Linked DNA regions of Homo sapiens: regions 2, 3 and 4 are each linked to region 1. The links are contacts of gene promoters, found by promoter capture Hi-C in blood cells and fetal thymus (Javierre and others, 2016). All regions are on one chromosome and are shown on one strand. Each heading gives the region's core, a stretch centred on a gene start or on the middle of the fragment in contact. The rest is flanking DNA. Distances are from core to core; before and after follow the strand shown.

Region 1 (6,589 bases), core at 1-2,500:
CATAGCGCAGGGCCTTCTCGAAGCTCTCCAGGGCCTTCTGGAAGACGCTGAGGCCCAGGAAGGCATTGCCCATGCTCAGGCTGACCTGGCCTCCGAGCTGGGCACCTGCCCTGGTACCAGGCAGCCCAAGGCAGGTCTTGCAGTAGGAGATGGTCTTGTGAAACTCGCACAGCTTCTCGTTGCTGCGTGCCAGGTTCAGGTAGCTCTCCAGGAGGAAGTCGGCATCCTCCAGCTCCCGGGCCGTGTCGATCTGGACCACAGCGAACTGCACACAGCGACGGTGGGCAGGTGGTGCTCAGCCTGGACTCTGAGCCTTGGACCCCAGCCTGCACTGCAGGCTCAGACCTGGAGGCCCCACACCCACCCCCCAGCCTCACACCCAAAGCAGCAGATCCCAAAGCTTCTTTTCAGACCCAGAGCTTCTACCCGCCAGCCTCAGCTACCTTCCCTACACCCCAGCCTCACCTCCCAAGCTCAGGCTTGCAGCCTTCACCTTCTATCCCAAGCCTCAGATCTGGAGTCTCCACCACCCACCCACCCCCAGCCGCAACCCTGGAGCCCACACCCCGCCAGGCTCAGACACAGAACACCAGACAGGAAGGCTGAAACCTACAATGGGCTTGAGACCCACAAACCCTCGACCCTGAGGCTGGAGAACCTCAGTCTCAGAGACTCGGGCACCACAGTTCAAGGCCACAGGCCTGAATCTGATGCCAAGACTCAGTATCTAAGACCCAGGGCCTTAGATATAAATTCAGAGCCTCGGGCCCTGGCTGCCAGCCTGTGGGACACAGGGGAGCCCGAGGAGGCCGAGAGGGGACTGGGGAGCCTGGGAGACATCCGGCCCCAGCCTGACCCTCGAACGCCCCCAGGCCGGGTACACCCACCTTCAGCATCTCCTTGTAGCGGCCCATCTCCGAGTGGGCTGTGACCAGGCAGCCCAGCACGCGGAAGCGCCCCATGAGGTCCGAGCTCTTCTCCAGCACCTTTGTCCACACCTGCAATGCCTTCTCTGTCTGGTTGGACTGGTACAGCTGGAGCCCCTTCTCGATCTGCTGCTTGGTCTGGTCCTGCCCCATCCTCCCCAAGCCCTGTGTCCCACGTGGGGTGATCCCTGGTGGCTCCGTGCCTCTAGGCACTCATGGGGCAGGAATCACAGTGCCAGCTGCCCCCCGAAACGTGGGAACAAAAGCAGCGTCGGGTGGGAGCCGGAATGGGGCCTGGATGGAGAGCAGGCGCCACCCTGGGAACAAAGCTGGTTCAGCCCGTCTGCAGCTGTCGCTGCCAGTTGGGGCCACATGGCCTCTGAGGAATGTCAGCAGCAAGGTCACGTGGGCCTCTGCTGCACCCACCCGCGAGCTGGGACGTGGCTTCCCTGAGCATACAGGCACCTTGCCACCTGGGCACCCCCTTGGGCGTCCCTTAGGCACCTCTGACACTGACCCTGACCGCCCTGGCAGCACGGGCCCTCCCAGCAGCCTTGCCAAGGGGCCAGCTCCAGCAAGTGGGCAGGCCTTGGGCTAGAGGTGCTCGGGGGAAGGAGAGCGAGGCTGGACCTGCAGGTCCGGGGAAGCCAGGTGAGCGCCCAGCCCTGCTTCTTCCCCATCAAGACACCCCTGACCGCAGCATCCCCTGGCTCTGTTCCTGAAATTCACTGAGCACCGTGGGTCACTCATCCAGGCCCAGGCTGACACCATTCACCAACTCTCACCTTAGAGAGTCTGGGAAAGACCTCCAGCTGGTGAGAGGCCTGAGCTCTAGCCTGGCTTCCTTCGAACTCTCAGTGGGACCCTAGCCAAGTGACCTGGCACCGTGGACTGAAGAGAGGAATGGTACCTGGCTCACTGGACTGCTATGAGAACTCAATGACGAAAGAGTTGAGAAGGACTTAGGACAGTGCCCGGCACAGGAAACCCCGCATGTGCTGCAAGAGGCTATTTTGCTCCATGGCAAATCCCCACCCGGGCCAGAACCCAGCCCTTGAAGTTTCAATGTCTCACTTCCAATCCCAACCCCGGGCTGAAAGGGTCCTCATAATGAGATTTAACACCAGATACTGTGGAGAAGGGCAAGGTCTTATGTAGTATTGGGGCCCCCGCTAGCAGGCCAGCTCATCCAGCCCCCCTTTCTCCTCTCTCTGCATGCCAGCCTTCTTCCTGCCCCAGGGCAAAAGTTTATCCTTTCTGGCTGGGCAATTCAGTGGTTTTTAGTATATTCACAGAGATGCACATTAATTGCCACTAATTCCAGAACATTTTAACCACCCCAAAAAGGAGACGCACACCCATCAGCAGTTACACCACTCCATTCCCCACCTTGATATGACTGAATCATGTCCCCCCGCAACCAAACGCATATGTTTAAGTCCTAACACTCAGTATCTCATAAGGTGACTGTCTTTGGAGACAGGGTCTTTAAAGGGTGATTAAGGTAAAATGAAGTCACATTGTACCTCATCCAGTTAAGACTGGTATCCCCCCCCCCTTTTTTTTGAGACAGGGTCTCACTCTGTCACCTAGGCTGGAGTGCAGTGGTGCAGTCACAGCTCACTGCAACCTCTACCTCCTAGGCTCAAGTGACCCTCCCACCTCAGTCTCCTGGGTAGCTGAGACCACAGCTGTCTAGTTTTTGTAGAGATGGGTTTCACCATGTTGCCCAGGCTGGTCTTGAACTCCTGGAGGTGGAGGTTTCAGTGAGCCGTGATTGTGCCACTGCACTCCAGCCTGAGCACCAGAGCAAGACCTTGTCTCAAAAAATAAATAAACAATAAATTTTTATTTTTAAAAATTATTTTTGAGACGGAGTTTTGCTCTTGTTGCATAGGCTGGAGTGCAGTGGCACAATCTCAGCTCACTGAGACTTCTACCTCCCGGGTTCAAGCAATTCTCCTGCCTCAGCCTCCCAAGTAGCTGGGATGACAGGTGTATGCCACCACGCCTGGCTAAGTTTTTGTATTTAGTAGAGACGGGGTTTCACCATGTTGGTCAGGCTGGTCTTGAACTTCTGACCTCAGTTGATCCACCTGCCTCAGAGCCTCCCGAAGTATTGGGGTTATAGGCGTGAGCCACCATGCCTGACCACAATACTTTTTTTTTTTTTTGAGACACTTTCCCTCTGTCACCCAGGCTGGAGTGTGGTGGTGCCATCTTGGCTCACTGCAACCTTCACCTCCCAGGTTCAAGTGATTCTCCTGCCTCAGCCTCCTGAGTAGCTGGGATTACAGCTGCGCACCACCACACCTGGCTAATTTTTGTATTTTTAGTAGAGACGGGGTTTCACCATGTTGGTCAGGCTGGTCTGGAACTCCTGACTTCATGATCTGCCCACCTCTGCCTCCCAAAGTGTTGGGATTACAGGCGTGAGCCCCCGCACCTGGCCCACAATAAATGTTTAAAAAGGACACAGTCACACAGAAGAAGAGCACGTGAAGACACAGGGAGAAGATGGCTATCTACAAGCCCAGGAGCAAGGCCTTAGAATGAAACCAACTCTGCCAATTCCTTGATCTTGGACTTCTAGCGTCCAGAACTGTGAGAAAATAAATTTCTGTTATTTAAGCCACCTGGTGTCTATGGACCTGTCTATTGTGGACCCTTCACAGGAATGGAATCATACAATATGTGGTCATCTGTGACTGGCTTCTTTAACTTGGCATAATGTTTTCAAGATTCAACTATGTTTTCAACCGTATCAGAACTTCATTACTTATTGTGGTTGGTTAATACTCATTGTCTGGATATACATTTTGTTGATTCAGCAGTTAATAGGCATTTGGGTTGTTTCATTTTTGGCTACTATGAATAATGATGCTATAAAAATTCATGTACAAATTGGGCTGGGCACGGTGGCTCACGCCTGTAATCCCAGCACACTAGGAGGCTGAAGCAGGCAGATCACTTGAGCCCAGGAGTTGGAGACCAGCTTGGGAAACATAGCGAGACCCCATATCTACAAAAAATACAAAAAAAAAAAAAAATTAGCTGGGTGTGGTGGTGCACAGCTGTGGTCCCAGCTACTCGCGAGGCTGAGGCAGGAGAATCGCTTGAGCCTACAAGCTTGGACTGCAGTGAGCCGCAATCATGTCACTACACTCCAGCCTGGGTGACAGAGCGAGACCCTGTTTCAAAAAAATAAAAAATTCATGTACTAGGTTTTATGGGGACATGTTTTCATTTCTCTTAGGTATATGCTTGGAGCAGAAGTGTGAGTAATATGGCAACTGTTACATTCTGGTACCTGCCTACCTGTCTGCCCCAGGGCCTTTGCACCTCCTAATTCCTTCTCTGTTCACCACACCCACACTCTGCCTCGTAAGTCATAATTAGGATGAATCAGCATATTATCCTCTCATTGAATTACACTGCATTCTGATACAGGACTTATCTCTATAATTTTATTTTGAGACAGGGTCTCACTTTGTCGCCCAGGCTGGAGTGCAGTGGTACAATCTAGGCTCACTGAGGCCTCGACCTCCTGGGCTCAAGCCACCCTCCCACCTCAACCCTCGCAAGTAGCTGGCATTACAGGCAATGCCACCATGCCCAGCTAATTTTTATATTTTTAGTAGAGACGGGGTTTCACCATGTTGGCCAGGCTGGTTTTGAACTCCTGTGCTCAAGTGATCCGCTGGCCTGGGCATCCCAAAGTGCTGGGATTACAGGCGTGAGCCACCACGCCCAGCCTCTCTATAATTTTATATTAGTGAGGTTGTTTGCTGAATGTCTTTATTCTTCACTCAAATGAGGTCATATGGCTGGGCCCTAACCCAGGGCAGGACTTTGTCTCCTTCATTACTGACTGTATTCCCAGAGCAAGGCCCGGCACACTGTGGCCCCTCAATAAATGTCAAATATCGGTGAATGGGGAAGAAGCGGAGGAAAGACGGCTTCACCGGGAAATTCAGAGCAACTACACGGCCTGCTTCCTGAGAGCCCAACGGGTCAGAGGGGACGCTCTGGGGGTCAGAAGGCAAATGCCCCAGGCTCAACAGAGGCAGAGTGGGAGCAGGCTCTGGGACAGGTGGCTGGGCAAGGCCACCTGGACTCCCCAAAGGAGTGCTCCTAAGCCTGGGAAAGGGAGGGAGAGCTGGCTGGGGTCTTCTCTCATCTCAGGGAGGCCTGGGTTGATGCTGAGCTGCAGATGGGAGGGAAGCTGGGCCCACAGCGAAGGTGTGAAGGGCCAGCAGATTCTCCCCACTCCAAGGCCCAGACACTATTCACATTGAGTCTCTGGCAGGAAGGAATGGAGGAAGGGCGGCCTGCATCTACACCCCAACAGAGTTGGGGACCACAGCCTTCCTCTTTCCTGGGGAACTCAAATGACCTCAAAACTTGAAAACTTGATGGGATCAAGCTGTCCTTTCCCTGAGACAGGTCTTTGCTCATCTGACTTCAGTGATGGGAATATGCCCATACTCGCTTATTCTAGGTAGCAGAGTACCTTATGTTTCCTTGAAACATTTCATTTCTTCTTTATTATTATTTTTTTTTTTGAGATGGAGTTTTTCACTCTTGTCGCCCAGGCTGGAGTGCCCGTGGTGGTGAGAGGTGAAGCCAGCTGGACTTCCTGGGTGGAGTGGTGACTAGGAGAACTTTTCTGTAGCTAACTAGAGGTTTGTAAAATGCACCAATCAGTGCTCTGTAAAAACACACCAATCGGTGCTCCGTAGCTAGCTGGAGATTTGTAAAATGGACCAATCAGCACCCTGTAAAATGGACCAATCAGTGCTCTGTAAAATGGGCCAATCAGCAGGACATGGGTGGAGACAAATAAAGGAATAAAAGCTGCCTCCCCGACCAGCCCATCCCCACCCCAACAAGCCAGCAGCAGAAACCCGCTTAGGTTCCGTTCCACGCTGTGGGAGCTTTGTTCTTTTGCTCTCCACAATAAATCTTGCTGTTGCTCACTCTTTGGGTCTGCACCACCTTTAATAGCTGTAACACTCACCACAGAGGTTTACGGCTTCATTCTTGAAGTCAGCGGGACCACGAACCCACTAGAAGGAACCAACTGCGGACACAGTGGGATCTCGGCTCACTGCAACCTCTGCCTCCTGGGTTCAAGCAATTCTCCTGCCTCAGCCTCCCAAGAAGCTGGAATTACAGGCGAGCACCACTACACCTGGCTAAGTTTTGCAGTTTTAGTAGAGACGGGGTTCCACCATGTTGGCCAGGCTGGTCTCGAACTTTTGGCCTTAAGTGATCTGCCCGCCTCAGCCTCCCGTGAGCCACCATGCCCGGCCTCAAAAATTTCATTTCTGAGCACGTTTTCCAGAAATCAGCGACTGTAGTTAGGTTAAGGGCATGCTCCTCTATGGCAACGACTGTGGTTTACTTGTCTTTGTACTACTAGTAACTAACGGCACGGCCCCTGGCAAGGTAAGAGGAGACCAACAGAGAATCCTATTTAACATTCTAACATTTTCTGAGTTAAGCATTTCTTCCAGTTTACAAATGAGGAAACAGGCATGGAGAGGTAAGGTGACCTGCCCAAGACTACACTGCCATCTGCTGGTCCTAGACAGCTGGGACCAGAAGCAGTGTGGTTGTAGAGTCTCGTTCTTTTTTTTTTTTTTTTTGAGATGGAATCT
Region 2 (5,496 bases), core at 562-3,061, 170 kb before region 1:
TTATTTAGAGAAGTGTATAGACACTTAACACGAAATAAATTATAATTAAGACCATGAAAGCTTTTCCTAATTTTAGGACATAGTTTAGAAATTTCTCTGAGCACGTCTCCCTGTCCTTGCAGAAATCCTGGTATTTCTGCCTCTAATTCATAGCCTCTGTAATGTATAGTAGGACAAGGACTCATCTGTGGGTATTGTATTACTGATTCTGAGCCTGAGATCAAAATAGAGGAGAGATTATGATTCAGCACCAAGGGCAGAGCTAGTAGCAGTGGCCTCTGGGCTCCTTTCTTGCCTGAAGGAGGGAGAAAAGTGGTGCAGATTAGGCAATTGGGGCATGGACATTTTCATTTGAGATCACATGAGGTAGAATAGCCAGCTGTTATTGTCTGAGCATGGTTAACTAGACAGTCTATGTGGTAGTTTTACATCAAGCTGAATGTAGATTGTTGAAACAGAATAATTAAGTTTCCATCTAGACCTAGAAGTGCAGGTTAGTGCTAGCTAGTTGAGGAGTCTGGTTTGATCCTGATCCACCCTGGAGGGATCCTGAGAGTGACTTCAATTTTTGTTACAATGACTGAGTCCAGATTAGATGGCCTAGGTCTGTTTTTCAGAAACAGAGCCCCAGGCGTTAAGCTGGAAATTAAGTCATTGGTAGGGATAGGTAGGTGAACCATTATTTATCTACATTTTTTTTTTTTTCTTGAGACGGAGTCTCACTCTGTCACCCAGGCTCGAGTGCAGTGGTGCGATCTCAGCTCACCACAGCCTCCACCTCCTGGGTTCAAGCGATTCTCATGCCTCAGACTCCCGAGTAGCTGGGATTACAGATGTGTGCCACCACACCCGGCTAATTTTTTTGTATTTTTAGTAGAGATGGGGTTTTGCCATGTTGGCCAGCTGGTCTCAAACTCCTGACCTCAGGTGATCCGCCTCGGCCTCCCAGAGTTCTGGGATTACAGGCGTGAGCCACCATGCCTGGCCTATCTATTTTTTAACATTCGATTCTGTGAGCTCATGAGCCTAGACACGAGGCTAGGCAAGCGTCAAGTTCTCCTATCATTAGTATGAAAGTGGAAGACCTTCTGACCTCTGCCTCTGGCCGGGAAGAAGTTGAGAGGGATGAGTCCCTTAGGCACAGCAGTGGATCTTATCAGTACTTTTTTTCCTATTAGACTTCGATTTTCAGAATTCCTCCTGGGAATGCTGACTCCTTGCTTGGTGCCCTGATGCTTCTCTGAGATAAACTGATGAATTGGAACCATGGTGCAAAAGAAGAAGTTCTGTCCTCGGTTACTTGACTATCTAGTGATCGTAGGGGCCAGGTAACCAAGAAGAGATTGACTTTTGTCTTAATATCTGGGATAGCCATAAAATCTGCAGTTGTTCCCTTCTCCGATTTCCATGTTGCTTTGCATAGCTCATCTTCTCCTGTTATTTTACCCTGATGGGAGCATCGAAGCCAGTAGGGAAAAAACAAAATCAGGTGGATTGAAAGCAAAACCCTGCTCTTAACTAACATCTTCTTGATGTCGAGCAAATATACTCTTTATACCTCAGTTTTCTTATTTTGTAAAAAGAAAAAGTACATTATAAGCTACTCCTCTATGTATACTTTTTTGGTAATTTATTAGTTAATTCACTTTAAAAGATGTTAATCATCTTAAGGTGCCAGTGATAATTTTATTGTCAAAATCTCCCCTTCGTTTCAGAATAGATGCCTTCATGACAGTGTAGACTTCACTTAGGTTACCAGCTCCATGCGGCAGGCAGCACCCATATTTTCCAAGGTGTTACAGTCAGGTTACTTTATCCAAAATAGCATCTTGAGCTTTATTTGTTGACTGTGGTTAAAATTTGATAGCCCATTCCATCCCTTCAGGCTGCTGAATTTGTCTTTATGTTCTTCAGGCACCCGAGCAGTGATAGCGTGGCCCAGACTCCTGAATTGCTACGGCGATACCCCTTGGAGGATCACACTGAGTTTCCCCTGCCCCCAGATGTAGTGTTCTTCTGCCAGCCCGAGGGCTGCCTGAGCGTGCGGCAGCGGCGCATGAGCCTTCGGGATGATACCTCTTTTGTCTTCACCCTCACTGACAAGGACACTGGAGTCACGCGATATGGCATCTGTGTTAACTTCTACCGCTCCTTCCAAAAGCGAATCTCTAAGGAGAAGGGGGAAGGTGGGGCAGGGTCCCGTGGGAAGGAAGGAACCCATGCCACCTGTGCCTCAGAAGAGGGTGGCACTGAGAGCTCAGAGAGTGGCTCATCCCTGCAGCCTCTCAGTGCTGACTCTACCCCTGATGTGAACCAGTCTCCTCGGGGCAAACGCCGGGCCAAGGCGGGGAGCCGCTCCCGCAACAGTACTCTCACGTCCCTGTGCGTGCTCAGCCACTACCCTTTCTTCTCCACCTTCCGAGAGTGTTTGTATACTCTCAAGCGCCTGGTGGACTGCTGTAGTGAGCGCCTTCTGGGCAAGAAACTGGGCATCCCTCGAGGCGTACAAAGGTACAGTTTGCTGCTGATGCCTAATGGGGGAAGCATTTAGAGATTCCATGTAATTGGTCTTTGAGGGGCATAGGAAATTTCCTCTACAGCTCAAGGTCCTTCAGACCTATTAAGCATATTTAGAGTATTTAGAGTTAATCTTTTTTCTTTTGGAGACAGTCTCGCTCTGTTGCCCAGGCTGGAGTACAGTGGTGCGATCTCGGCTCACTGCAACCCCTGCCTCCTGGGTTCAAGTGATCCTTCTGCCTCAGCCTCCCGAGTAGCTGGGATTACAGGTGCACGCCACCATGACCAGCTAATTTTGGTATTTTTGTAGAGACAAGGTTTCGCCATGTTGGCCAGGCTGGTCTCAAACTCCTCACCTCAGGTGGTCCACCCACGTTGGCCTCCCAAAGTGCTGGGATTATAGGCGTGAGCATCATCCCCAGCCAAGAGTTAATCTTTACTAAGCAAAAGACTGCTGCAGAGTTAGACCTCTTTCCAAAATTGTGTTTGGAGTAATGCTGGAATTTGGTGTTTTAACTGTGGTTAGGACAGTAAGTCTTACCCAGTATATATCTTTACATTTGCTTTTGCCATTGTATATACTTTCCGGTCCTATCTGAGCTCAGAGACTGGGCTTTCTTAATGATGCTCCGTTTCCCATTGTCATCATTAGAGCCTCTGTGGTGATACTGAGTTGCAGTAGGGTATCAGCTTCTGATGCTAATGTGTCTGATTCCTGCTGTCTGCTTCTCAGGGACACCATGTGGCGGATCTTTACTGGATCGCTGCTGGTAGAGGAGAAGTCAAGTGCCCTTCTGCATGACCTTCGAGAGATTGAGGCCTGGATCTATCGATTGCTGCGCTCCCCAGTACCCGTCTCTGGGCAGAAGCGAGTAGACATCGAGGTCCTACCCCAAGAGCTCCAGCCAGCTCTGACCTTTGCTCTTCCAGACCCATCTCGATTCACCCTAGTGGATTTCCCACTGCACCTTCCCTTGGAACTTCTAGGTGTGGACGCCTGTCTCCAGGTGCTAACCTGCATTCTGTTAGAGCACAAGGTGAGAGGCAAGCTTCCTAGACCTTTCTAGGGGAGAAACTCTTAAATATGCCAGTGGCCAGACCACGAGCTCTTAGAGGACAGGGACTACATATTTTTCACCTTTTTGTCTTCAGGAGGTAACATGATGCCTGGTAAACAGCAGGTGTTCCGTAGATGTGGGTTGAATTAAGATACTGGTATCATGTGGGATGTATTTAGAGGGTTTACCATTCATTAGGGCTTATCCTTAATTGTACTGACCTAATTCTTTGGAAATATCAGTAGTTCTGTTTCAGTGAGTGGTCCTGGGATGGGCAGTACAAGAACTAGGAAGGTAAGGGAGTGATTTGCATATCTCAGGTGACTGAGGATCACCATTGTGCCTGGATTGGGAGGTGGCAGGCATGGTGGGGCAGGGGGCAGTGGGAGAGACAAAGCTGGAGCTGTAGGCTCGATGAAGTGGAAACCAAGTTGTAATGTTGGAAGCTGTTTTCTTGTAAACCATATTTTATGTTTTGGAGTGATTCTTACTGGATGGCTCATGACAGGTGGTGCTACAGTCCCGAGACTACAATGCACTCTCCATGTCTGTGATGGCATTCGTGGCAATGATCTACCCACTGGAGTATATGTTTCCTGTCATCCCGCTGCTACCCACCTGCATGGCATCAGCAGAGCAGGTGAGTCTCAAGGCGACTTCCGGCTTTCTCACCTCTGTCTTCCTGAGGGAGGAGGCTTAATGCTCAAAGAAGTTGTAAGTGAGTGCTGGTCCTCAATCCTTTGTCATAACTTATTTGTCTACAAAATCTGACTGATTTGAACTGATCTGGTGGCAAGGCTTATGCTATTTTAGTTTTCATTTATCACAACAAATGTTAATGACTGTAGGCCACTGGCTACACTGCAGCAGGTGTTACGTGTGTTACGTAATACAGTAGTTCCTCCTTATCTGTGGAGGACACATTCCAAGACCCACCAGTGGATGCCTCAAACCACAGATAGTTCCAAACTCTATAGATACTTTGTTTTTTTCTATACATATATACCGGTGATACCGTTTAATTTATGAATTAGACACAGTAAGAGAGTAACAGTTTTCTCTTTGGGCATATATTTGGTGTTTTTTGGAGACAGAGTCTCCCTCTATCCCCCAGGCTGGAGTACAGTGGCACAATCTCGGCCCACTGGAGCCTCTGCCTTCCAGGTTCAAGTGATTCTCCTGCTTCAGCCTCCCTAGTAGCTGGGATTACAGGCACTGCCACCACCACACACCAAATAATTTTTTGTATTTTTAGTAGAGGCGGGGTTTCACCATGTTGGCTGGGCTGGTCTTGAACTCTTGACCTTAGGTGATCCGCCTGCCTCAGCCTCCCAAAGTGCTGGGATTACAGGCATGAGCCACCGTGCCCAGCCTCTTTCTACATATATTTGGCTTCTCTTTGGCATATCCCAATTGCCAGCATCAGTACCCTTGTGCTTTGGGGCCATTATTAAGTAAAATAAGGGTTACTTGAACACAAACGCTGAGATTGTGTGACAGTTGATCTGATAACCGAGATGGCTACAGGCTGGACACAGGGGTGATTCATGTCTGGGTGGGACAGAGCGGGACAGCATGAGATTTCATCATGCTTCTCAGAACTATTGTCCTGCACTTCAGATATGATCAAGCTGCAGTTTAAAATTTATGAATTGTTTATTTCTGGAATTTTCCTTTTAATATTTTCAGACTACAGTTTGCCTCAGTTAACTGGAATCACAGAAAGTGAAACTGTGGATAAGAAAGACTACTGTATACAAAAAAATGTACCATGTTACCTTTCAAAAAATCTGAAAAATTCTGAATTTTCAAATACATCTGGCCTCAAGAGTTTTGGAAGAGGGATTGTATCTGCATTTCCTTATCTAGAAGAATCCAGACTTGATAAGTGCTCATGATAGGTTTTGTCTTTGTTTCTCAC
Region 3 (6,561 bases), core at 3,375-5,874, 220 kb before region 1:
GGTTCTTTATATATTCTGGATATTAACCTTTTTTTTTTTTTTTTTTTTTTTTGAGATGGAGTTTTGCTCCTGTTGTACAGGCTGGAGTGTAATGGCTCAATCTCGGCTCACTGCAGTCTCCACCTCCCGGGTTCAAGCAATTCTCCTGCTTCAGCCTCCTGAGTAGCTGGGATTACAGGCATGCGCCACCATGCCCGGCTAATTTTTGTGCTTTTAGTAGAGACAGGGTTTCACCATGTTGGCCAGGCTGGTCTTGAACTCCTGACCTCAGGTGATCTACCCGCCTCGGCCTCCCAAAGTGCTGGGATTATAGGTGTGAGACACTGCGCCCGGCCATGATATTAACCTCTTATCAGATCTATGATTTGAAAATATCTTCTCCCACTTCATAGATTGCCTTTTCACTTTGTCGATTGTTTCTTTTGATGCCTGAATTTTTTTTTTTTTTTTAATTTTGAGATGGAGTTTCACTCTTGTCACCCAGGCTGGAGTGCAATGGCGCAATCTTGGCTCACTGCAACCTCCACCTCCCGGGTTCAAGCAATTCTCCTGCCTCAGCCTCCCAAGAAGCTGGCACCCACCACCACGCCCAGCTGGCCCGATTGATTTTTAATAGTTAAACCAACTTTGCATTCTTGGAATAAGTTCATCCTGGCCATAACATATTTATCGTTTTTAAATATTACTGGATTGAGCTGGCAAATATTTTAAGATCTTTGCATTTGTGTTCATGTGTAAAATTGGCCAAATCCTTGTCACATTTGTGTATCAAGATTATGCTGATTTCTGGCCAGGCGTGGTGGATCACGCCTGTAATTCCAGCACTTTGGGAGGCCGAGGGGGTCGGATTATGAGGTCAGGAGATGGAGACCATCCTGGCCAACATGGTGAAACCCCGTCTCTACTAAATATGCAAAAATTAGCTGGGCGTGGTGGCGCACTCCTGTCATCCCAGCTACCCGGGAGGTTGAGGCAAGAGAATCGTTTGAACTTGGGAAGTGGAGGTTGCAGTGAGGTGAGATCGTACCACTGCACTCCAGCCTGGCAACAGAGTGAGGCTCTGTCTCAAAAAAAAAAAAAAAAAAAAAAGATTATGCTGATTTCTGTGAATTGCTTGAGCCCAGGAGGCAGAGGTTGTAGTAAGCTGAGTGCACCACTGCAGTCCAGCCTGAGCGACAGAGCACAACTCTGTCTCAAAAAAAAAAAAAATTATGCTGCCCTCTTTAGCTTGGGAATTATTCCCTCTTTTTCTAGTCTGTGGAGACGGAGGGTTTAAGATCAATATCTGGCTGGGTGCGGTGGCTCACTCCTGTAATCTCAGCACTTTGGGTGGCCAAGGTGGGCAGATCACCTGAGGTCAGGAGTTCAAGACCAGCCTGGCCAACATGGCAAAACCCTGTCTCTACTAAAAATACACAAAAATTCGCCAAGCATGGTAGCAGGTACCTGTAATCCCAGCTACTCGGGAGGCTGAGGCAGGAGAATTGCTTGAACCCAGGAGGCAGAGGTTGCAGTGAGCCAAGATTGTGCCACTGCACTCCAGCCTGGGCAACAGCATGGGACTCTGTCTCAAAAAAAAAAAAAAAAAAGGAAGGAAAGATCAATATCTCTTCCTCAGCCAGGTCCGGTGGCTCATGACTGTTGGGAGGCCGAGGCAGGCGGATCACTTGAAGTCAGGAGTTCGAGACCAGCCTGGCCAACATGATGAAACTCCATCTCTCCTAAAAATACATAACTTAGCTAAGCGTGGTGGCGTGAGCCTGTAATCCCAGGTACTTGGGAAGCTGAGGCTGGAGAATTGTTTAAACCCAGGAGGCGGAGGTTGCAGTGACCTGAGATGGCACCATTGCACTCCAGCCTGGGCTACAGAGTGAGACTCCATCTCAAAAAAAAAAAAAAAAAGAAATATCTATCTATCTATCTATCTATCTATCTATCTATCTATCTATCTTCCTCTTTCTTCATCTTCTTTTTCCCTTCCTGAACAGTTCAAACCAAAAGTCATTAGGTAGGATCAAGCAAGATAGATGTTTACGTAGTGGGAAGGCTACAGTGCTGGAAGTGCCAGATGCTGGGGCCCCTGAAGCTGAGGTGAATGTCATTACAGGTGGCAGGTGGCAGCTCAGTACATAGAGACTGGGCCCAAACAAGATCAGAAGGGCATCCATGTAGGCAGGGGTGAAGAGTAGAGGAGGCCGGGCATGGAATAGTGAAGTCTGAAGCGGGGTTGAGGATGCTGAACCACAGGGAGGCCTAGAGTGGGGTGGCGGAGTCAAGTGGGGTGAGCAGGGCTTTTGCATGGAGAGGGGCGGCCGTGGCGCCTGATGTGGGCAAGGAAGTTGTGTCTGCATGGTTGAGGGAGTGGAGAGAGGGAAGAGGGTGATTGTGCCCTCGGGAGGGTAAAAGAGTCCAAGCATCCTAAGGAAGACGTGCATTTGGGGAGTGTGTGGCAGCAATAGTGGAAGACTGGTTACATACAAGGAGATTAATCAAATATGTAAGTATATTGAGTAAAATGGGAACCACATTTTTCACTGTCAAAGAAGGGAATTATAAACATGGAAAGAGAGAAACTCGAATCAACTCTGTGGTGTTGACTTTGAATTGAAGACATTGATACAAATTTAAGGTTTTCAGTATACAAAGTAAGACAGTTGTGAAGCAATCTGATTGCAGATTCCTTTTACATTTTTATTACCTTAATCTTTTATAAGTATCTCACCCTATGCTTAATTTGATGGCTCTTCTTTTTTTTTTTTTTTTTCTTCTTCCTAATAGAGACAGGGTCTTGCTCTGCCACCCAGGCTGGAATGCAGTGGCAGGATCATAGCTAACTACAGCCTTGAACTCCTGGGCTCAAGTCACCATCCCACCTCAGCCTCTCGAATAGCTATGAGCACAGGTGTGCACCATCACTCCCAGCTAATTTTTAATAATTTTTTATAGAGGCTGGACCCAGTGGGTCATGCCTGTAACAGCACTTTGGGACGTTGAGGTGGAAGGATTGCTTGAGCCCAGGAATTTGAGACTGGCCTGAGTTACATAGTGAGACCCTGTCTCTAAAAAAAAAAAAAAAAAAAAATTGGTGACACACACCTATAGCCTATAGCACCAGCTACTTGGGAGGCTGAGGCGGGAGGATTGCTTGAGCCCAGGAGGTTGGGGCTACGCTGAGCCAGGATTGCACCACTGCATCAAGGTTTTGAACTCCTGGCCTTAAGCGATTCTCCTGCCCCAGCCCCTCAAAATACTGGGATTATAGATGTGAGCTACTGTGCCCAGCCAATAGCTATTATTTTTGCAACTCATTATCAAGTTCTTCCAAAGCTTTCAACACGGCTTTTATAGTAGTAATAATGGCCTTTGTTTTTGCATGTATTTCATCAATTTACATGCTTAATTAAATTTGGTGTTAATTGCAATAAAAGATACAATTGGAATAAACAGGTTTGAGAACAACTACAACCAACCCTTGGTTTGGTAAGCATAGAACTCAACTGGAGGGAGCCGAAGATTGTCATACTACCAGCAAGCATTTGGCAGACCATGAGCATTAGAATGACCGTGAGGTTAGAATGTTTTATAGAGGGAAGGGAATGTGCCAGTTAGTATGTTGTGATAGCTAAGTGGTTGTTGCATAGAAGAACTTGTACAGGTCTGTGAGGCTGGGATAGCTGCAGCGTAAAGAAGAAGTGGAAAAGGTGGAGAAAGGCGGACAAGTGGAGAACTTTACATCTTGGGGATGTAAAGTTCTTAAAACAGTGCCTGACTGGGCGCAGTGGCTCACGCCTGTAATCCCAGCACTTTGGGAAGCCGAGGCAGGCCAATCACCTGAGGTCAGGAGTTCGAGACCAGCCTGACCAACATGGTGAAACCTGTCTTTACTAAAAATACAAAAATTAGCTGGGTGTGATGGTGTGGGCATGTAATCCCAGCTACTCAGGAGGCTGAGGCAGGAGGATCACTGGAATCCAGGAGGTGGAGGCTGCAGTGAGCTGAGGTTGTGCCACCGCACTTCAGCCTGGGCGACAGAGCAAGCCTTCATCTCAAAAAAAAAAAAAAAAAAAAAAAAACACACAAAGAAAATCCCCCCAAAAAACCAGCGCCTAGTACATAGTAAGCACTTAATAAGGTTAAGCCATTGATATTCTCATGATTATTTTCATCATCATTTTCATGAATGTTTGGAAGAATAGGAAGGGGCACAGATCTGACTCCTGCCCTCCTAACTCAGCCACTGCTCTGAGCTGAAGCTCTTCTAAAGAGAGCACTGTGGGAATAACAAATTAGGGCACATCCATGTAATGGAATACCTCAGCAATAAAATGAGATGAGCTCTTGATACAGCAAACTCAGATGAATCTCAGAGGCATGATGAGTGAAATGAAACAAGACAGTCTCAAAAGGTTGCATACTGCCTAATTCATTTACATGACATTCTATTTTTAATTTTATTTTATTTTATTTTTAGAGACAGGGTCTTGCTCTGTCACCCACGCTAGAGTGCAGTGATTCGATCGCAACTCACTGCAGCCTCGACCTCCAGGCTTCCGTCATCTTCCCACCTCAGCCTTCTGAGTAGCTAGAACCACATGCACCTACCACCATGTCTAAATTTTTTTTGTGTGTGTAGAGATGGGGTCTCCCTATATTGCTTAGGCTGGTCTTGAACTCCTGGCCTCAAGCAATCCCCCCGCCTCAGTCTCCCCAGGTGTTGGGATTACTGTGCTCGGTCTATAGGACATTCTATGAGGGCAAAACAATAGTGATGGAGAACAGATCAGCCAGGGGCTGGGGGCGAGGGGAGGGTGTGATTACAATGGGATACCACGATGGAGTTTTTGGGCTGTTGCAAATGTTCTGCATCCTGATTTGGGTGGTGGTTATTTAAGTCTATACATATGTTAAAATTCAGAGAACTTTATATCCCAAATTTGCTATATGTTAATTAAAAAAAAAAGTAAAAATAAAGCCTTAAGAAATGAAGGGAGGCGGGGCACGGTGGCTCACGCCTGTAATCCCAGCACTTTGGGAGGCCAAGGGTGGCGGATTACCTGAGGGCAGGAGTTCCAGACCAGCCTGGCCAACATGGTGAAACCCTGTCTCTACTAAAAATATACAATTTAGCCATGCGTGGTGGTGGGCACCTGTAATCCCAGCTGCTTGGGAGGCTGAGGCAGGAGAATCGCTTGAACCTGGAAGGCAGAGGTTGCAGTGAGCCGAGGTCGTGACAGAGCAGGACTCCATCTCAAAAACATAAAAATAAAAATAAAAATAAAAAAAAGAAAGAAATGAAGGGGCCAGACAAAGCGGCTCATGCCTGTAATCTTAGCACTTTGGGAAGCCGTGGCAGGGGGATCGCTTGAGCTTAGGAGTTCAAGACCAGCTTGGGCAACGTGACAAAACCCCATCTTAAAAAAAAAAAATAGAAAAATTAGCTGGGCATGGTGGCACGCACTTGGGAGGCTGAGGTGGGAGGATCGCTTGAGCCCAGGAGATTGAGGCTGCAGTGAGCCGTGTTTGTGCCACTGCACTTCAGCCTAAGTGACAGAGAAAGACCCTATTTCAAAGGAAAAGAAAAAGAAGTGAAGGCCCTGTAGAGAGCGTCCTAGTGTCTAAGCTGACCTGGCCCCAAGCGCTGCTCGAGGGGTGCTTCTGTGACGGCGCAGCATGTGTGCCCAGGCCTGGTTCCTCACGGCCAGGCCCATCATCACTCACTGGCTTTTTCCTTCCTCGTGTTAGATTGGAGCTGGAGGGAGCATCACTGGGCTGAAGTTTAACCCTCTCAATACCAACCAGTTTTACGCCTCCTCAATGGAGGGAACAACTAGGCTGCAAGACTTTAAAGGCAACATTCTACGAGTTTTTGCCAGCTCAGACACCATCAAGTGAGTAGTTTAACTAGCAGGGGAAAGGGCTTCTAAGCTTAGGTGTAGTTCCGGCAAGAGCATCCAGATCCCATTTCCTTAACCCAACCTGGCCCAGGGAAGAAAGGAAAGATGTCAGCCACTTTCCGCCCTTCTTTCTCTTTCTCAAACTGCTCCTTGGCTGCCCTCACTTTGGTCCAGGTGGGTTACTGCTTTGGGAAGGTGTTCTGGAGCCTCAGCTCTTCTGTAAGTCATACCTGTATTAGACTGGACCTTGACCCTCACTAGATAAGCCAGCATGGCGTGGACCCAGAAAGCCACCTAGAGAATGGAGCAACAGCTCAGAACTTGAGACTGAATGCCCTGCACTCACTGTGGTGTAATGACCTGACCTGTTCCTGGGTGGAAGCTTATATGGATGGAATCTTTTCCATAAAGTGCTCTGGACTTCCCAAGAGAAAGTGGCTGGAGAAATTACAGAATGCGGCCGGGTGCAGTGGCTCATGCTTGAAATCCCAGCACTTTGGGAGGCCAAGGTGGGTGGATCACCTGAGGTCAGGAGTTCGAGACCAGCCTGGCCAACATGGTGAAACCCCCATCTCTACTAACAATACAAAAAATTAGCTGGGCGTGGTGGTAGGCCCCTGTAATTCCCAGCTACTTGGGAGGCTGAAGCAAGAGAATCGCTTGAACC
Region 4 (6,865 bases), core at 1,824-4,323, 130 kb before region 1:
TGGGGTTTCACCATGTTCGTTGGCCAGGCTGGTCTTGAACTCCTGACCTCAAGTGATCCACCTGCCTCGACCTCCCAAAGTGCTGGGATTACAGGTGTGAGCCACTGCGCCCGGCCCCATTTCTTTTATACACGTGCGCGCGCACACACACGCGCACACACATATACATAAAGATATCTATATATAGATGATATAGTCACATTGTTCATAAATCAGAATAACAGAAAATAGTACACATTGGGAGGTCTTGCACTCATTCTTGTCCCCTTCCACTGAATTTCCCACTCCCCTCACCCCTTCATCCTATAGACAACCACTTTTATTGGTTTCCTTTGTAAATTCCAGTGGATTTTTTTTTTCTTTTTCTTTTTTTTTTTTTTTTTTTTTGAGACGGAGTCTCACTCTGTCGCCCAGGCTGGAGTGCAATGGCTTGATCTCAGCTCACTGCAACCTCCACCTCCTGGGTTCAAGCGATTCTCCTGCCTCAGGCTCCCAAGTAGCTGGGATTACAGGCGCCCACCACCGCACCCAGCTAATTTTTTGTATTTTTAGTAGGGATGGGGTTTCACCATGTTGGTCAGGCTGGTCTCCAACTCCTGACCTCACTGATCCACCCGCCTCGGCCTCCCAAAGTGCTGAGATCATAGGCGTGAGCCGGTGCACCCGGCCTTCCAGTGGACTTTTATGCAAACAATAAAATATGAACACAAATTCTTATTTTCCTCCTTTCTTTTTTTTCTTTGAGACAGAGTGTTGCTCTTTTGCTCAGGCTGGAGTGCAGTGGTCCAAACTCAGCTCACTGCAACCTCTGCCCCTTGGGTTCAAGTGATTCTCCTGCCTCAGCTGCCTGAGTAGCTGGGATTACAGTCGCCCACCACCATGCCCAGATAATTTTTCTATTTTTAGTAGAGACGGGGCTTCACCATATTGGCCAGGCTGGTCTCAAACTCCTGACCTCAAGTGATCTGCCCACCTTAGCCTCACAAAGTGCTGGGATTATAGGCGTGAGCCACCCCGCCTGGCCTATTTTTCTCCTTTCTTTCAGAAAGATAGCACATCTTATCCATTGCTTTATCCCTTGCTTTTTTCATTTAACATTGTCCTGGTCCTCTTCTGTATCAGTACCAAGAAAGCTTTCCCATTGGTTTTATGGCTACATGTATTCCACTGTGTGACTGTGCCTTAATTTATTTAACCAGTCAGTACATATGGATCCTTGGGTTGCTTCCAAATTTGCTGTTACTGATAGTCATACTGTGAATGATGCTGTGCCTGCTTCATTTCATACATGTGCAAGTGTGTCTAAGGATTCCCAGAAATGAGATTGCTGGGTCAGAGGGACAATGCATTTGTAATTTTGGTTGATATAATTCTTAAGTGTCTCATAACACGTAATACCCCCTTTGCCATTAATTTTGTTGAAGAAATTGGATCGTTTGCCCTGTGGAGTCTCCTACATTCTAGATTTTTTGCTGATTGTGTCTCCTTTGTATTAGCGTGTTTCCTGTCACATATTTCTCATAGACTGGTAGTTCAGTTTAGAGGTTTGATCACTTTCAGATTCACTCTTTTGGGAAGAATACTTAATGAGTGGTGCTATACGCTTCCTATTGCCTCATATGGTTGTCCCTCTCTTACACATCAGTGGGCTCAGATGTGGGCAACCTGATCTGCCCACCAGAAAGTTCCTCATTTGTCTTCTGATTTTGCCTATGGTATTTTTTGACACACATAAATTTTTTATTTGTATATAACTTTTTTTTTTTTTTGAGACAGAGTCTCTCTCTATCGCCCAGGCTGGATGCAGTGGCATGATCTCGGCTCACTGCAACCTATACCTCCCGGGTTCAAGCAGTTCTCCTGCCTCAGCCTCCCAAGTAGCTGGGTTTACAGGTGCCTGCCACCACACCCGGCTAATTTTTGTGTTTTTAGTAGAGATGGGGTTTTACCATGTTGGCCAGGGTGGTCTCGCACTCCTGACCTCAAGTGATCCACCCACCTCGGCCTCCCAAAGTGCTGGGATTACAGGTGTGAGCCATCACGCCTGGCTACTTTTATATAATTAAATTAATCAATAGTTTCTTTTACGGCTTCTGGATTTTGAGGCATGGTTAGAAAAAGCCTTACTCTCCAGGATTATAAAGGAAATTGGCCGTGTTTTCTTCATTTCTGTGTTTTTAATTCTGAAACAGACCTAAGTAATTTTAAGGACCAAATACAACTCCTATATATAAAGTAGTAAAATTTTGCCTATGTTATCTGTTCCCCTGTGGTTTAGCTGAATTTGAATATCACATTCACAGTTTTTTTGAACAGGTGGTCTACCAAACGCAAGAAGGGCTTACCCTGAAGCAGAAACATACATGTCAGTGTAGCCAAGAAGGAGTCATTTTCATGTCACCCTTTAAAGTGTTAGAATTTGGCTAGTTGCCTCTCAGAGCCTAGGGCTGACTTAGGACATCTGCACCACAGCAGAAGTGGCACATGACTCTTGCCCTTTTCTTTTCCTTTTAAAAAAAATATCTCCAGCAGATTCCTTGAACTACTCTTACTCTCACCACCGTACAAAGGGAGCCTCATGCTAAGTCTCTGGAGTGTGGGACTGGACCCATTACCCAAATAGATGCCTCTTCCTCGAAGTGGTGCCATGCCAGGGAAGAGTGCACCATGGTCACTGTGCCATCACCTGGCTCCTGTGAGGCTATTTGATTTAGCCTTTCTCAGAGCATAGCCTGCTTTTTGCATGATCAACTGGACAGCAGTTTGGGAATTTTTTTTTTTTTTTTTTTTTTTTTTTTTTTTTTTTGAGACAGAGTCTCACTCTGTTGCCCAGGCTGAAGTGCAGTGGTACAATCTTGGTTCACTGCAACCTCCACTTCCCAGGTTCAAGCGATTCTCCTGCCTCAGCCTCCTGAGTAGCTGGGACTACAGGCACATGCCATCATGTCTGGCTAATTTTTGTATTTGTAGTAGAGACGGGGTTTCACCATTTTGGCCAAGCTGGTCTCGAACTCCTGACCTCAAGTGATCTGCCCACCTCAGCCTCCCAAAGTGCTGGGATTACAGGTGTGAGCTGCCACACCTGGCCAAGGAAAATATATATATATATATAATTTTTTTTTTTTTTTTGGAGGTGGAGTCTTGCTCTGTCACCCAGGCTGGAGTGCAGTGGCACAATCTTGGCTCACTGCAACATCCACCCACCGACTTCAAGAGATTCTCCTACCTCAGACTCCCGAGTAGCTGGGACTACAGGCACGCATCACCACGCTTGGCTAATTTTTGGTATTTTTAGCAGAGATGGGGTTTTGCCATGTTGGCCAGGATGGTCTTGAACTCCTGACCTTAAGTGATCCGTCTGCCTTGGCCTCCCAAAATGCTAGGATTACAGGTGTGAGCCACCATACCCAGCCAAAGATTTTTAAAAATTGTCTTTGTTGCCCTTTTTTTAGTTACAGAAGTAAAACAGTATATGCTGTAAATGTTTCAAACCGTGCCAAAGTTAAAAAATAATTAAAAGTTTTACTCACTGCCTTTCAATCCTTTGTCCCAGAGGTAACCAGTAATGAAGAGTTTTATGTGACTCCTTTCAGATTATTGAAAATGCATATTTGTGCAAATATAATTTATTTATATGGAATTTTGTTTTTGCACTTACGAAAGTGGTATCAAATTACAAATATTGGGCTGGGCATGGTGGCTCACATGAGCCTGTAATCCCAGCACATTGGGAGGCCGAGGCAGGTGGATAACTTGAGGTCAGGAGTTCCAGACAAGCCTAGCCAACGTGGTGACACCCTGTTTCTACTAAAAATACAAAAATTAGCCGGGCGTGTTGGGCAGGCGCCTGCAATCCCAGCTACATGGGAGGCTGAGGCAGGAGAATCGCTTGAACCCGGAGGCGGAGGTTGCAGTGAGCCGAGATCATGCCACTGCTCTCCAGCCTGGGTGACAAAGCGAGACTCCATCGCAAAAAAAAAAAAAAAAAAAAAATTACAAATATTGTTAAATAATTTGCTTTTTTCACTTAATGATATACCTTTCCGTGTCTTTTTTTTTTTTTCTTTAATGGATGCTTAGCCATTAGATGTCGTATGGTGTACCATAATTGGTTTAACTAGTGCCTCTCACTATTTTTTAAAAAAATATTACTCATGCTGGGTGTGGTGGCTCACGCCTGTAATCCCAGCACTTTGGGAGGCCAAGGTGGGTGGATCACGAGGTCAAGAGTTCAAGATCAGCCTGGCCAAGATGGTGAAACCCTGCCTCTACTAAAAATACAAAAAATTAGCCAGGCGAGGTGGTGGGTGCTTGTAATCCCAGTTACTTGGGAGGCTGAGGCAGAGAATTGTTTGAACCTGGGAGGCGGAGGTTGCAGTGAGCCGAGATTGCACCACTTCACTCCAGCCTGGGCGACAGAGCAAGACTCCGTCTCAAAAAAAAAATTTAAAAAAATGAAATATATATTTATATATTACTCATTAGGCCAAGCATGTTGGCTCACGCCTGTAATCCCAGTACTTTGGGAGGCTGAGGCAGGAGGATTGCTTGAGCCCAGAGTTTGAGACCAGCCTGGGCAACATAGGGAGACCCTGTCTCTATAAAAAATTTAAAAATTAGTCATACATGTGGTGATGTATGCCTGTGGTACCAGCTACTGGGGAGGCTGAGGTGGGAGGTTCGCTTGAGCCCAGGAGGTCAAAACCAGCCTGGGCAACATAGGGAAACCCCGTCTCCACAAAAAATTTTAAAATAAGCTAGGCATGCTAGTGCATGCCTATGGTCCTAGCTACTGGGGAGGCTAAGTTGGGAGGATCCTTGAGCCTGGGAGGTCAAGGCTTCAGTGAGCTCTGATTACACCACTTCAGTCCATCCTGGGTGACAGAGCAAAACCCTGTCTCAAAAAATAATAATAATAATAATAATTGCTCATTGAATATCCTTGAACATATATTTTTGCACCCTCACATGAGAATTTCTATAGGATATAGTCCTAGACATGAAAATTTCAAGTCAAGCTTATATACGTTTAAAATTTCGGTAGATTTTGCCAAATTGCCATCCCAAAAACTATACCAGTTTACACCTCCAACAGCCACTTAGACGACTATAACAGTATATTACAAGCATTTCTCTAGACTAGAATGCTCTAGCTTAGAAATCATGTGTTCTCCTAAATGTGTTCTGCCTGCCTTTACATGATGTTCTTAAAGGATTATGAAAGGTGGAGTGGTATTGTCCATTTTCCCCCTGGAGATAACCACAGAGTCAGACTGGGCCTAGAACTCAAGTTTCCCATTCCTACTCTGCCACTTTGACTGATTCTTCAAAGGCTTTAGAACTCCAGTAAAGTCTTATACAGTAGCTTAAACCTGATAGTCTTGTGTGTTCCTTACTCACTCACCTAATATTTGTGGAGCACGTATTATATGCTAGGTACTTTGTTGGGTGTTGGGATTATAGCAGTGAATAAGACAGACGTGATTTCTATTGCCCTTAGCATTGACAAGCTATTGGGGAAATCAGATAATTAAAGAGTATTATAAAATATGGTGAGCATTATGAAAGAAGCTCAGGGGGGGCAGAATAAATACCAGAGGGCCTAGGAGCTGTGGACAACTCCTTTGAGAAGTTGACCTTTGAGCTTAGACTTGAAGAAAGAGTAAGAGTTAATGGTTGGGGAGTGGAAGAGCAGTCAGGGATATTTGAGCTAGAACCAATGGGACTCAGTGATGGAGTGTAGTTAGTTAGAGGGAAGAGGAAGGAGTCGGGCATCAATTCTTCATTTCAGGCTGGGGCAGCTGGGTGGATGGTGGTGCCATTTCCTCAAATAGCAGACTTAAAAGGAGGATCTGCCCAGGAGGAGATGTTGAGTTCAGATTTGGACACAATGAGTTTGAGGTGCTACATGTGAAGCATCCAGACACTGAGAAGCTCAGGAGCTCAGGAAGAGAGGTCTAAGATGGAGAAAGGTAAGAACCATCAACATGGTAATAATCATTAGTATCATAGTTCTGATATCTAGTAGCTAATTAGGGTACTTTCTGTGTGCCTGGCTTTGTGTGCACCTTAAATACTTTATGCACATTAACTCATTTAGTCTTCATAGTAACTGTAGGAAGTTATTACTGTTACTATCCCCATCTTACCTGTGAGGAATTGTGGACACAGATGAACTTGCTCAGGGTGGCACAGCTCAGTAATGGCAGAGCTGGAATCTAAACTCAGGCTGACTTTAGACCTGTGCCCTTCACCATTGTGCTGTAATGTCTCCCGTAACATTTGAAGCCTTAAGAACGGATAACTGGCTGCGCATGGTGGCTCACGTCTGTAATCCCAGCACTTTGGGAGGCCGAGGCGGGCGGATCATGAAGTCAGGAGATCAAGACTATCCTTGCTAACACGGTGAAACCCCGTCTCTACTTAAAAAAATATATAAAAAATTAGCCGGGCATGGTGGTGGGTGCCTGTAGTCCCAGCTACTCGAGAGGCTGAGGCAGGAGAATGGCGTGAACCTGGGAGGCGGAGCTTGCAGTGAGACGGGATTGCGCCACTGCACTCCAGCCTGGGCGACAGAGCGAGATCCGTCTCAAAAAGAAGAACAGATAACTTCACCTGAAAGAGAATGTTGAACAAGAAGGTGTCAAAGATATTTGCTTTTTAATTTATATCATCCTGTATTGTATCATTTTTATGTAATAAGCATTGTTCATGTGTCACTTGTGTAATTAATTTTTAAAAATATTTTTATAGAAAAAGGGTAGACCCAGGATTAGAAAGTGCATCAGCTCCATTTTTCTCCTTGGTTAAGTCTGTCATGATCTCCTACCTTTGTGTTTGTCAACAAAGATGATTCCTGAGCTTG

What was found. Contacts are between HindIII fragments. The CHiCAGO score rates a contact against its expected background, and 5 or more counts as called.
Region 2: a contact is called between a fragment that was not itself captured here and the fragment with the promoter of RAPSN in region 1, in 1 of 17 cell types (M0 macrophages). The highest score is 5.4, in M0 macrophages.
Region 3: a contact is called between a fragment that was not itself captured here and the fragment with the promoter of RAPSN in region 1, in 1 of 17 cell types (megakaryocytes). The highest score is 5.6, in megakaryocytes.
Region 4: a fragment that was not itself captured here is called in contact with the fragment with the promoter of RAPSN in region 1 in 1 of 17 cell types (M2 macrophages); the score reaches 7.6 in M2 macrophages.

Annotation. Positions count from the first base shown.
Region 1 is chr11:47,447,886-47,454,474 of GRCh38, forward strand. RAPSN (receptor associated protein of the synapse) reads right to left here and starts at 1,251. Exons shown (of 8, transcript NM_005055.5): 1 at 888-1,251; 2 at 1-265. The coding sequence starts at 1,079. The HindIII fragment of the contact is 3,655 bases long and covers 399-4,053 here.
Region 2 is chr11:47,272,649-47,278,144 of GRCh38, forward strand. MADD (MAP kinase activating death domain) reads left to right here. Exons shown (of 37, transcript NM_001376571.1): 2 at 1,179-1,328; 3 at 1,915-2,511; 4 at 3,251-3,554; 5 at 4,084-4,215. The coding sequence starts at 1,267. Among named protein-coding and RNA genes, the nearest start is that of MADD-AS1, 3.3 kb to the left of the region's middle. The HindIII fragment of the contact is 3,506 bases long and covers 59-3,564 here.
Region 3 is chr11:47,227,072-47,233,632 of GRCh38, forward strand. It overlaps DDB2 (damage specific DNA binding protein 2), which reads left to right. Exons shown (of 10, transcript NM_000107.3): 4 at 5,743-5,888. Among named protein-coding and RNA genes, the nearest start is that of DDB2, 15 kb to the left of the region's middle. The HindIII fragment of the contact is 2,598 bases long and covers 3,326-5,923 here.
Region 4 is chr11:47,316,020-47,322,884 of GRCh38, forward strand. The region is part of intron 30 of MADD (MAP kinase activating death domain); the gene reads left to right. Among named protein-coding and RNA genes, the nearest start is that of MYBPC3, 33 kb to the right of the region's middle. The HindIII fragment of the contact is 3,885 bases long and covers 1,132-5,016 here.